2 separate regions of the Homo sapiens genome follow, and region 1 is linked to region 2. Evidence: promoter capture Hi-C in human tissues and cell types (Jung and others, 2019). All regions are on one chromosome and are shown on one strand. Each heading gives the region's core, a stretch centred on a gene start or on the middle of the fragment in contact. The rest is flanking DNA. Distances are from core to core; before and after follow the strand shown. Region 1 has its middle 33 kb from the start of PIP. Region 2 holds the start of OR6V1 (olfactory receptor family 6 subfamily V member 1).

Evidence for each region. Contacts are between HindIII fragments. The study calls those that stand out against the background at their distance.
Region 1: a fragment that was not itself captured here is called in contact with the fragment with the promoter of OR6V1 in region 2 in 1 of the 25 tissues and cell types used here (neural progenitor cells).

Annotation. Positions count from the first base shown.
Region 1 is chr7:143,095,465-143,101,790 of GRCh38, forward strand. No RefSeq gene overlaps it. Among named protein-coding and RNA genes, the nearest start is that of PIP, 33 kb to the right of the region's middle. The HindIII fragment of the contact is 4,523 bases long and covers 1,518-6,040 here.
Region 2 is chr7:143,046,979-143,053,722 of GRCh38, forward strand. OR6V1 (olfactory receptor family 6 subfamily V member 1) reads left to right here and starts at 5,363. Exons shown (of 1, transcript NM_001001667.1): 1 at 5,363-6,304. The coding sequence starts at 5,363. The coding sequence ends at 6,304. It also overlaps the pseudogene OR9P1P. RefSeq lists an enhancer at 1,558-2,757. The HindIII fragment of the contact is 14,465 bases long and covers 107-6,744 here.

The sequences.
Region 1 (6,326 bases), core at 2,529-5,028, 47 kb after region 2:
TCTCACAAATCACCACTAAAGAACTTATTCATATAACCAAATACCATGTGTACCCCAATAACTTATGGAAAAATAAATAAATAAATAAAGTGTTAAAGAAATATCACAATGGAACAAGGCCCCTAGAAATTAACCTGAGTGCTGAAGCACTTTGTGAGCTAGAATCCGAGACAAAATAGTAATTGCAATGGTCTATTACCTTGATTTGTCCAGAGCTGAGGAGTCTCCCAGGATAGAAGACTTTCAGTGCCAAAACTCAGAAAGTTCTGGGCAAACCAGGATAAGGTAGTCATCCTCAAGACGGTGGAATGCAGAAAGTGGGCAGAAATGCCAAGGTGTGATATCAATTATTTATCTAAATTATCTCAAAATGTGTCCAGGGCTGGGAGGCAGACATTTACATGAAAAGCGTGGGTGAGATTTCTGTGTGTACAATCCAGACAGATGAAGTTCTTGGTTCACATGGGGCTTTCTATCAACGACCATTCACCAATGGAATTGGAGCCCTGAAAATTTACCCAGGGAATGTGTCTGGGGTCACTCCCTAGAGATACTACAAGACTGAATACAGGGTTGGAGTGCAAGGGCAGGGTACTTGGATCAGGGTAGTGCCAAACTGGCAAATGGAGATTCAGTGACAACTATTTCACAGTATTTAAGAGGTTGAAATGGCAAGCAAGTGAAGATAGGTGGATTAAATTGATCCCTGACACAAGCACATTATTTTGCCTATAAAACCAGGAAGAACAATCTGTCTCCTGTCCTGAGGGCACATTCATGACATTTGCCATTGTGCAGCTACTGTTGACTTTTCCTGCAGAAGAAAAATCTGTCTAAAAGGACATCTTGAAAGGCTAAGAGGGCGTGTTGGGACCTTCTGCCAGCTGGCCTGAAGAGGCTCACAAACCACCTCTTCCTCCTGGTTCCTTTGGAAATTCCACTGGGCAATGCAGACTGGTTCATCTTCTTGTACTTAACTGAGCTGCCAGGTTGGAAATAGTCCTAAACTTTTCGCACAGAGCTGTAATCTTAAACTGTAATTTTATTTTATTTTATTTTTAAAATTTTTAAAATTTTAAATTTTTTTTTAAATTATTATACTTTTAAGTTATAGGGTACATGTGCACTAGGTGCAAGTTTGTTACATATGTATACATGTGCCATGTTGGTGTGCTGCACCCATTAACTTGTCATTTACATTAGGTATATCTCCTAATGCTATCCCTCCCCGCTCCCCCCACCCCACGACAGGCCCCGGTGTGTGATGTTCCCCTTCCTGTGTCCAAGTGTTCTCATTGTTCAACTCCCACTGATGAGTGAGAACATGTGGTGGTTGGTTTTTTGTCCTTGCGATAGTTTTCTGAAAATGATGGTTTCCAGCTTCATCCATGTCCCTACAAAGAAATAGGAACACTTTTACACTGTTGGTGGGACTGTAAACTACTTCAACCATTGTGGAAGACAATGTGGCAATTCCTCAAGGATCTACAATTAAACTGTAATTTTAAATTGAGAGATGCAACATGGTGTAATGAGAAGTAGATGGCTTTTGTAACTACAGAAACCTAGTTTAACCTGGCCACTTACTTCCTGTATAACCTTAGGTACATTAATTAGTTTCTATGATCCTTAGTTCTCTCTCCATAACATTGGTTTAATAATATGTATCTCAGGGATTTTGTGATACATAGACATAACCATATGAACATGGAAAGCACAGTGTACATGAGGTATAGGAAGCCCCCCTTCCCCCCACCCCCCACAAAGTGGTCTAATTCTCTATCTGTGTGTGTGACTGTGTGTGCAAAACTGTACATGTGATTGTGTGTGTGTGCAGAGCTGTTCAGATAACCCCCTGCCCTACAGCCTTACCCAAGAACAGAAACTCTGTCTCATCCTTCCTCAACAGCTGTGTTGTAAACTGGGTGCATAGCTTTAATTTCACAGTCCACTAGGCTCTACTTCTCCATCTCCCCCATCGAACTCCATGCTCAAGATCACACTTGTGGCTTCTATCTCATTGTAAAAAAAGGAGGTGGAGCATATTTCTTTGCAATTCATGGAGGAACATAAAGCTATCTCTGCCTCTTGGATGGCCTGTCCCAAATGTCTTTCTCTATAGGGTTTGCTATTAACTTCCCTCTCAGAACTGCTTTGCTGCATCCCATAAGTTTTGGTATATTGTATTTCCATTTTTGTTTGTAAGATTATTAATCTCCCTCTTAATTTCTTCTGTGACCTCTTGATTATTTCAAGGCATTTTATTTAATTTCCACACTTTGTAGAATTTTCCAAGATCTCTCCTGTTATTGATTTCTAGTTTTATGCCATTGTAATTGGAGAAGATACTTGATATGATTTCAATTTTCTTAAATCTGTTAAGACTTGTTTTTTGTTTGTTGGTTTGTTTTTGGCCTAACATATGATCTATCTTAGAGAATGTCCCATGTCCACTTGAGACAACTGTGAATTCTGTTACACTTGGATACAATGTTCTGTTTGTCTGGTTTATTTGGTCAAATGTGTAATTCAAGTCCAATGTTTCCCTATTGATTTTCTGTTTAAATGATTTGTCTGTTCTTGAAAGTGGGGCATTGTGTTTCCCTAATATTATGGTATTAGTGTACATTTCTCCCTTTAGATTACTTAATAGTTTCATAATACATTACATGCTCCAATTTGGGGTTTATATGTATTTACAGTTGTTATGTCCTCTTTATGAATTTATCCCTTTATTATTATATATGACCTTCTTTGTCTCCTTTTTAAGGTTTTTGACTTAAGGACTATTTTCTTGATATGAGCATAGCTCTCCCTGGTCTTTTTTGGTTTCCGTTTGTGTAAAATATCTTCTTCCATCCCTTGAATTTTACTCTCTTTGTGTCCTTACTAATAAAGAGAGTCATTTATAAGTAGTCTATACTAAGATCTTTTTCTGTTTGTTTTAAGCCATTCAGCCACATTTATGTCTTTTAATTTGAGAATTTAATCTATTTACATTTAATATAGTAATTGATAGGTAAGAACTTTCTACTCCCATTTTGTAATTTGTTTTCTGGGTATTTTGTGGATATTTTGCCTTTTTCTCACTTGCTGTCTTTCACTATGGTTTGATGGTTTTCTGTAGTGATATGCTTTGAATTCTTTCTTTTTATATTTTGTGTAACTACTATAGAGTTTTGCTTTGTGGCTACCTTGAGGCTTATGTAAAACATTGTATACTTAATAACAAGCTATTTTAAGCTAATAACAACTTAACTTTAATCACATACAAAAACTCTACATTTACAGCCCCTCCCACCTTTTATGACATTGATGACAAAATTAACATCTTTTTGTAATTTTTATCCCCTAACAATTTATTGTACCTGCAGTTGTTTTTAATAATTTTGTTTTTTAACCATAATACTACAGATAAAATTTCTGAATTCACCACATTTATAGTATTAGAGTATTCTGAGTATCACTATATATTAATGTATCATCAAGTTTTGTACTTTTATACATCTTATGTCATTCCTTAGCAGCCTTTAGTTTCAGCTTAAAGAACTCCCTTTAGCAATTCCTGTAAGACAGGCCTAGTGGTAATAAAATCCCTTAGCTTTTATTTGTCAGGAAAAGTTTTTATTTCTCCCTCATGTCTGAAAGAAAGCTTTGCTAGGTAAAGTATTTTTGGTTGGCAGTCCTTTTTTTTTTGCTTTTACCATTTTGAATACATCATCCTACTCTCTCCTGGACTGTAAAACTTTTGCTGAGAAATTTTCTGACAGCAGTATAGGGACTCCTATACTAAGCCTAGTACTCAATAGTTATTTTTTCTAATCCTCTCCCTTCTCCCACCCTTCGCCCTTAAGTAGGCCTCAGTGTCTGTTGTTCCCCTCTTTGTGTCATGAGTTTCATTATTTAGCTCCCACTTATAAATGAGAATATGCCAGCATGGTGACTCACACCTGTAATCCCAACACTTTGGAAGGCTGAGGTGGGTGGATCACCTGAGGTCAGGAGTTCGAGACCAGCCTGGCCAACATGGTGAAACACCATCTCTACTAAAAATACAAAAATTAGCTGGGCATGGTGGTAGCTCCCAGCTACTCGGGAGGCTGAGGCAGGAGAATCACTTGAAACTGGGAGGCAGAGGTTGCAGTGAACCAAGATCATGCCATTGCACTCCAGCCTGGGCAACAAGAGCAAAACTCTGTCAAAAAAAAAAAAAAGGCTGAGAATATGGGATGTTTGGTTTTCTGTTCCTGTGTTGGTCTGCTAAGGACAATGGACTTCAACTTCATCTGTGTTCTCATAAGACATGATCTTGTTCTTTTTTATGGCTGCATAGTACTCCATGGTGTATAAGTACCACATTTTCTTTATCCAATCTGTCATTGATGGGCATTTAGCTTGATTCTATGTCTTTGCTATAGTGAACAGTGCCACAGTGAACATTCACCTGCATATGTGTTTATGGTAAAATGATTTCTATTCGTTTGGGTATATACCCAAAGGAATGAGATTGCTGGGTTGAATGGTAGTTCTGTTTTTAGCTCTTTGAGGAGTCACCACACTGCTTTCCACAATGGTGGAACTAATTTACACTCATATCAACAGTATACAAGCATTCCTTTTCACCACAGCATCACTAGCATCTGTTATTTTTTGACCTTTTAATAATAGCCATTCTGACTGGTGTGAGATGATTTGCATTCTCTAATGATCAGTGATACTGAGCTTTTCTTCATATGCTACTTGGTCACATGTCTATCTTCTTTTGAAAAGTATAATACTTTTTTGAAAAGTCAAATATTTTTCAGTGCAATCAATTTATTGAGAGAAAATTTGAGCATAATGAGAATTTCATATTTTCTTACAGGCAGTTTCAGCAGCAAGAAGCACAAAGTGAAATAGAAACTGTACCAAGTTAAACCAATTCACATAAGAATACACAAAACACACTCATATACCTCAAACATCTAAAAGCTATCTCGGTACACTGAGTGTATTGATCTCAAGGGTTTGTTTATTGTCTTGTTACATTTGAAAACTACTGTATATAAGCAAACACTCTTTCAATATCCCAAACATGTTTAAGTGTCCTGGTTCAAAACACCAGCAGGGAAAATGGAAAAAAAGGGCATACTATTTGTATGTGAAGACTTTAAACAGAAATTACCCAATCCTGTAGAAATGGCTCCCTTCAGTGTTATTAATGGCTAATTCAGTGGTTTCAAACATCACTACAATCTCCAAAGCCTTCGGCCATCAGATGACACCATAAGTTCAAATGAGAAAGCCACAAAAGAATTTTCAGCAGTGATATTAAAATTAATTGAAGAAGATAGCTACACATTGGTTCAAAAATGGCAATTTTGAAAAAACAGACACGCATTAAAAATCTCAAAGTACCTACAACCCAAAGGCAAGAAAAAAATGCCCAAGTATTTAAGAATTGCAAAAGATCAAGAGTCAACAAATCCAGCCAAAGACAATGAATCCTGCCCATCCACACCTGGTGTTATAGCCTTCTGTCTGATGTCTGATAACTCTCCTTCTACTACTTCACAGTATCCCACATGCTGCTACCTCCTGACACCTATTTCCACAAGGAAATTTCATGTATTCTTCAATATAAACTCTCATAATTATTGTAGTATTTATGTATGTTTTAACTATCAAATATGTGTAATAGTGTACTATTCCTTTTGTTTACCTCTTTATTTATCACTGACAATGTACTTGAGTGTTATACCATTAATCCCATTTTTCTCATAACTCAGTTTTTATTGTACAATTTTGCATATTGCAGTGATTTTTAGGAACATATATGGCACATTATAGGAGAACTGACTGTACAGACCCAAATTAAATTAGCGGATATTTGTACCAAAAGACATGTACAAAAAAATCTTAACAGGTTTATTCAAAATAGCAAAAACTATAATGCTAAAATAAAGAATGGTACATTTAGATAATATAGTACTAAACATCAGTGAAAAATATTTAGTTACTGCTAAGTGCAACAGCCTAGGTAAATCCCATAAAAATAATGTTCACAGAAAGAAGCTAGAAACCAGGAAGTAGGTATATTATGATTCTATTTATATGAAGTTCAATAAAAGAAAATAATAGTCTTTGATGAGAGAAATTAGAATCACCGCTTAACCTTATGGGGTATTGACACAAAGAGGTCATCTTAGTCTATTCTTCCTGCTCTTAGAAAATACCAGATACTTGGTAATTTATAAACAATAGAAATTTATTTCTCACAGCTCTGGAGCCTGGGAAGCCCAAGGCCAAGGCAGTAGCATATTCCGTGGCTGGTGAAGGCTTACTCT
Region 2 (6,744 bases), core at 4,113-6,612:
TGCCCACTTCCAAGGGCCTGAGTGTGATAATTACATATGGTTTGATGATGAAAATAAAGATGCTTTAGCTTAGATATTTGTTAGTATTTTCCAGATTACCTTAGAATCCATGAGGACTGGCCCACCTAAAACTGATTTAGGTCAGTAAATCTGACCTGTAAGAAGGTTCAGAAAGGGGGTCAACAGGAAAATAAACAGGAAAACTACCTTGTTTTATTCTGCTGCCCAAATTTGCTTGGGTTTCACGTAGAGAAACAAGCAGCTGTCATAGTCAATCACCACACAGGTGAAATGGGAGGCATGAGTGGAGAAGGATTATTTTTTGGCCAGAGGCTGAGGGGATACTGGAGTAGGAATCAATCTGGATCAAAGAAGCAATAACAATGGAAATGTCCATTAATAGACTGTGTGAAAAGATGAAGAGTTGACTGAGGAAGAAATCCCCGGGAGACTGAAGACTTCATCAATTCAACCATGTAAATGACTGCATTTCCCATTAATCTCATCAAGTGAAAGAAGAAGTTAACCAAAAGGAAATGGGGCAGTTCCTCAAAGCCTGGGAAGCCCAGGAGACAGAATTGAGTGGCACTAGAGTAGTTCCCCTCGCTGTTTCAATCCTAGCTCTTTCTCTCTGGGAAGGCTAGAAAGGAAACAAGAATTAACATTGCTCCACATGCCTTTAATCCCAAAGGAAATAAGGACAGATTTAGGATTATGCTCCTGGATTATGGAGCCTGCTCTATGTTATGATCATTTAACCGAGTTGACGCTACATATTTATTAAGGAATGAACACAATTGTGTAAAGATGAATGGATCTGGTCAAATAAGTGGTTCACCAGGCACCAAAGCTGCATGGTAGTCATTGCGATAGGCAGAGGAATGCCCCCTCAACGATGTCCAAGCCCTAATCCTTGGAATTTGTGAAATGTTGCTTTACATAGGAAAGGGGACTTTGCAGGTGTGATTGGGTTGAAGACCTTGAGATGAGGGGATTAGCCTGGGCGATCCAGGTGGGCTGAATCTAATCTTAGGGGTGATCCAGATGGGCTGAATCTAATCTTAGGGATTTGTAAAAGTGGAGAAACTTCTCCTCTGAGTTCAGTCAGAGGGCTAAGTGATGACAGAAGACGGTTCTGAGAGACACATGTGACTGGCTTTGAAGATGGACGAGGGAACAATAAGCCAAGGAATGTGGGCAGCTTCTAGAAGGTGGAAAAGCAAGGAGACTCCAGAAAGGAAGGCAGCCCTGATGACGCCTTGATTTTAGCTCATTGAGGCCTGGTCAAGTTACTGACCTGGAGAATTTGTCAGGTAATAAATTTGTGTTGTTTAAGCTACAAAATTTGTGGTAATTGGCTACAGAAGCAATAGAAAATGAATAGTCATGAAGGCCCATGTAGCCCCGACCTATGCTCCTGCCTTTCAATTCCCAAGCCCCTGCCTCCAGCCCTGCTCTGCCCAGGACCTGTCTTCCTACCTGAGCTCCCTGCTAGCAACTGGCTCCTTTCTTCTTCCTCCTCCATTTCTAGCCTTGTGACCTACATTTTTCTTTACTTTCTTTCTTTTTGTTTTTGTTTTTGTTTTGAGACGAAGTCTTGCTTTGCCACCCAGGCCGGAGTGCAGTGGCACGATATTGGCTCACTGCAACCTCTGCCTCATGGGCTCAAGCAATTCTCCTGCCTCAGCCTCCTGGGTAAATGGGATTACAGGCTAATTTTTTGTATTTTTAGTACAGACAGGGTTTCACCATGTTAGCCAGGCTGGTCTGGAACTCCTGACCTCAAGTGATACACCCACCTTGGCCTCTCAGAGTGCTAGGATTATAGGCATGAGCCACCGTTCCCAGCCTCTTCTTTGCTTTCAATGGGTCAGCTCCAAATCTCAGTTCCAAGCTCAAGTCCTACAGAAAGATTGCCTGGTCAACCCCTCCAGCCCTGGTTATTCTTAACCTCAGGGCCCATCTGTACTACCTTCATTGCACAGCTTTTCCTTGAAATCTTTGAGTCATTATTTCTGTCTCAGTGTGGGTGGGGTTGCACTGGGTATCATGCATAAGGTTTAAATGTCTCTGAGATGAAAGACTGTGACTCAGAGTTTACTAGGGAGCTGGAAGCTTGGAGTGGCCTCCCCATATTCCCTTTACCTTTGTCCCCAGGGTGTGTATCTTCTCACAGGAGCCAGATCCCAAGATGTGTCCACCAAGGGCCCTGCCTCTGGAGGCAGATATCTGTTTGATTCCCAGACTTCTCCAAATGATACTTTCTTTGGAGAATTTTAACAAGAGGCTGCTATGGTCCAGGGCCTCCATTCCCTGCCTCCCTAGATCCCTAAACCCTGGATCCACTTGGAGATTTTGTCTGCAAATGGAAACTCTGGATCCAGCCCTGGCTAGGTACCCAGGCTGTCATAATTTTAGTCCAGCTGGGAAAATTCCTTTGTGTTTTTTCCATGATCTCATATTTTTTCCATGGTCCTGGGAGGAGGGGAAGGGCCAGGAGACAGGCACTGCCGAGGTGCTGATCCTAAGCCGTCAGCTGCTTGGGTGTATCTGGGTCTTTATCCATTTCTTTATTCAGATCTTTTTCTCAAATGTTACTTCCTCAAAACAGAGGACATCTCATTATTCTAAGGAGCAACGTCAGTGCCTCAGAAGTCCCCAGAGGGCTCCTTGGCTTCCTGTCATTCCCACAGAAAACACTCTGCTGGAGTCTAAGTTTCCCATCCAGCATAAGCTGAACTGTAAACATCATCAAGACACGAAGGACTTGGAGATGTGGATGAGAGAAAGAGCTGAAAACACTCATCCTTGAGAGAGAATGGACAGAATCAGCACCTTTCCCCTCTGGTCTCCTGAGGGACTTATTTCCCATCTCCCAGCCCCACATCAATGCTGCTGCCCCTGGCTTTGTAGTGACACAGGGTAGGTGCTGAATTAGAAAATCAGCATAAGGACTGGCAGAGTTTTAGCTCACCCAGCAGTGCCACCTCTTCCAAGCTGTGCACAAAGCCCCTTTCCACCCTTTCCAGCCGCAAGACACAACCCAAGGGAAAGAGACTGCATCTCTGATGTCATTCATGTTATAGAGTGAGGCCAGTAGGCAGGTGTCTCCAGGTATGAATGCCTAAGTGAGAGCAGCTTACAAAGAAGACAACAGGCTTGGAGGCTAAGGTGAGGGGGGGAAGTCTGTATGTCAGTCAGGTTCTCATGCAACACAAACATAAGGACTGGGTTTGAATTTAGTCAGTGCTGGGGTAGATTTTAGGATTTTAGACCTACCGTTAAGGCTTGCCAGTGGCATGGGTGCAAGGCTTTATTTATTTATTTATTTATTTATTTATTTATTTATTTATTTTTTATTGTTTTTGAGATGGAGTCTAGCTTTGTCATCCAGGCTGGAGTGTATTGGCATGATCTCAGCTCACTGCAATCCCACATCCCAGGTTCAAGTGATTCTCCTACCTCAGCCTCCCAAGTAGCTGGGATTACAAGTGCCCGCCACCATGCCCAGCTAATTTTTGTATTTTTAGTAGAGACGGGGTTTCACTGTGTTGGCCAGGCTGGTCTTGAACTCCTGACCTCGTGATCCGCCCACCTCAGCCTGCCAAACAGCTGGGATTACAAGCGTGAGCTACCGCGCCTGGCCGGGTGCAAGGCTTTTTAAAATTAGAATGTCATTGCTGTGTGGCCAGGACACAACCCCAAATGAAGCATTTATGGGGCTGGAGAAAGGGCCAGAGTATATCTACACACAGCTTCACTCCTTCCACTCCTGACAGTTTGTGTTGTAAATACTTTGTTTGTGTTTGAAATGTTTTAAAGTACCCTTTTAGTGAACTGAAATTCCAAGAAACAGTGTAAAGCTGTAAAGATCTTCACACACACACATGCTGGCAATGAGAAGAAGTGTAGAGAGATGATGGGCAAAAAAAATTTGAGTTCTATTGACGGTCTAACAATAAGAACAGTGATAACAATAACAACAACGATTTGTTGGCTAGTATGTGCTAGTCACTGCACTAAGTAGTTTACTTATTTAATTTTATAATCACCATAGAGGCTAAGTACCAGTAATACCATTATTTTACAGCTGAATAAACGGGCTCAGAGAGAGTAAGTAACAAAGAAGAGCAGATTTACGGCCCGTGACAAGCAAGTCTAGAGCCAGAATTCAAACACAGGCAAGCCAACTCCATAGCTTACACTTTGCACCACGGCGGGAGGGGAAGTGCAATGGAGACGGCAAAGCAGCACCCTTGGGTAGACAGATTATGCCGTTGGGAAGCCTGATGACTGTGTGTGTCCTGGGAGAGCAGCCACTTGGATTTCCAGGCTCGCTCCCTGACCTGCTGCACCCTTTCTGCTCTCCATCTTTGCAAACACGAAGCAGAGGTCTCCTCTAAAGGAAGTTAATTTCTGGACTCAAAACTCTGACTTTCACTAATTTCATGATCATAGCCGGAGAAATGTGCACAAGCGAGGGTCCTCAGAGAGGCAGCTCAGAAAGGTTTGCAGGGACCCTTTAAAAAGGGTCTTGGGGCACAACCTCTGGGTGTGACATAGACGGATTAGCCTACATTTGGGGGCTTCTGGGTCACATGCACTAATGCTCTCTCTCCCTCTCTTTTTCTGTGTTCCTCCCCTTCCTGTATTTCTCTATTTGAATTTTTTCTGTTCTTTCTCTGGTCCTCTGTTGTTTCCTTCTTGTTTTCTCCCTAAATGTCAATGTCTGTTGCCATGTGGTCTTCCTTAATCTTTTCCTCTGTTTTTCTTTCTTCCCCCCCTTTTTTTTTTTCTTTTTTGAGATGGAGTCTCACTCTGTCACCCAGGCTGGAGTGCAGTGGCACGATTTCGGCTCACTGCAACCTCCACCTCCCAGGTTCAAGCGATTCTCATGCCTCAGTTTTGCAGGTAGCTGAGATTACAGTTGCCTGCACCTGGCTTATTTTTGTATTTTTAGTAGAGACAGGGTTTCACCATGTTGGCCAGGCTGGTCTTGAACTCCTGACCTCAAGTGTTCCCCCTGCCTCGGCCTCCCAAAGTGCTGGGATTACAGGCATGAACCACCATCCCCAGCCTTCTCTCTTCTTAATAATGGCTTTCTATGTCTTTCACTTCTCTCATACCCTCACTCTGTTTCTCCTTGACTCTCCCATTCCTGTTTTGTTATCTTTCTTTATTGCCGTTTCTTTCTGCTTTTCTGTTTATCACTCGCTGGCTACTTGCCTTTCTCTCTCTATTCTCTGTCTCTGTCCCTGTTTCTTCTGTTTCAAGTTCAATGGTTCTCTGTCTCTATCTCTCTGTTTCTGCCTCTCCGTCTGTCTTTTGTTTCTCTTGCATGCAGGGCCCCATACTGTGGATCATGGCAAATCTGAGCCAGCCCTCCGAATTTGTCCTCTTGGGCTTCTCCTCCTTTGGTGAGCTGCAGGCCCTTCTGTATGGCCCCTTCCTCATGCTTTATCTTCTCGCCTTCATGGGAAACACCATCATCATAGTTATGGTCATAGCTGACACCCACCTACATACACCCATGTACTTCTTCCTGGGCAATTTTTCCCTGCTGGAGATCTTGGTAACCATGACTGCAGTGCCCAGGATGCTCTCAGACCTGTTGGTCCCCCACAAAGTCATTACCTTCACTGGCTGCATGGTCCAGTTCTACTTCCACTTTTCCCTGGGGTCCACCTCCTTCCTCATCCTGACAGACATGGCCCTTGATCGCTTTGTGGCCATCTGCCACCCACTGCGCTATGGCACTCTGATGAGCCGGGCTATGTGTGTCCAGCTGGCTGGGGCTGCCTGGGCAGCTCCTTTCCTAGCCATGGTACCCACTGTCCTCTCCCGAGCTCATCTTGATTACTGCCATGGCGACGTCATCAACCACTTCTTCTGTGACAATGAACCTCTCCTGCAGTTGTCATGCTCTGACACTCGCCTGTTGGAATTCTGGGACTTTCTGATGGCCTTGACCTTTGTCCTCAGCTCCTTCCTGGTGACCCTCATCTCCTATGGCTACATAGTGACCACTGTGCTGCGGATCCCCTCTGCCAGCAGCTGCCAGAAGGCTTTCTCCACTTGCGGGTCTCACCTCACACTGGTCTTCATCGGCTACAGTAGTACCATCTTTCTGTATGTCAGGCCTGGCAAAGCTCACTCTGTGCAAGTCAGGAAGGTCGTGGCCTTGGTGACTTCAGTTCTCACCCCCTTTCTCAATCCCTTTATCCTTACCTTCTGCAATCAGACAGTTAAAACAGTGCTACAGGGGCAGATGCAGAGGCTGAAAGGCCTTTGCAAGGCACAATGATGAGCCCAGGGCCCAGGGGAACCTGGCCTGCCTCCATTGAGCAGTTCTGTGGGGAGGGAGACCTCCAGCAAGTGGGAAGAACACTGCTGAGTTTCTTTAGTTTTTTTCCCTCTGAGCAATAACTACAGTGAGCCCTGAGTGCTGCACTGTCTGGCCCAAAGCTCTTATGGACCACCATGGAAGAGTTCCCTACATCCCCTGGCAGCCGTAAGAACTCTGAGAGTAGCCCAGAGCTTTCAGTAAAGGGAAGTGCATGTGCTTTGCATTTAAGGAAGAGCAGCCAAGAAGTGCTCTATGATCAAGAGGTAGTGTCCAATCCCAGTATGTGTGCATGGGTGTGTATGTGTGTACATATGTGTGTATGCGTGTGCATGTTCCGGGTGTGCTTCTCTATCACAGTATGCACTGCTGCTGAGTGTATGCACCATAAGTGCTTGGGC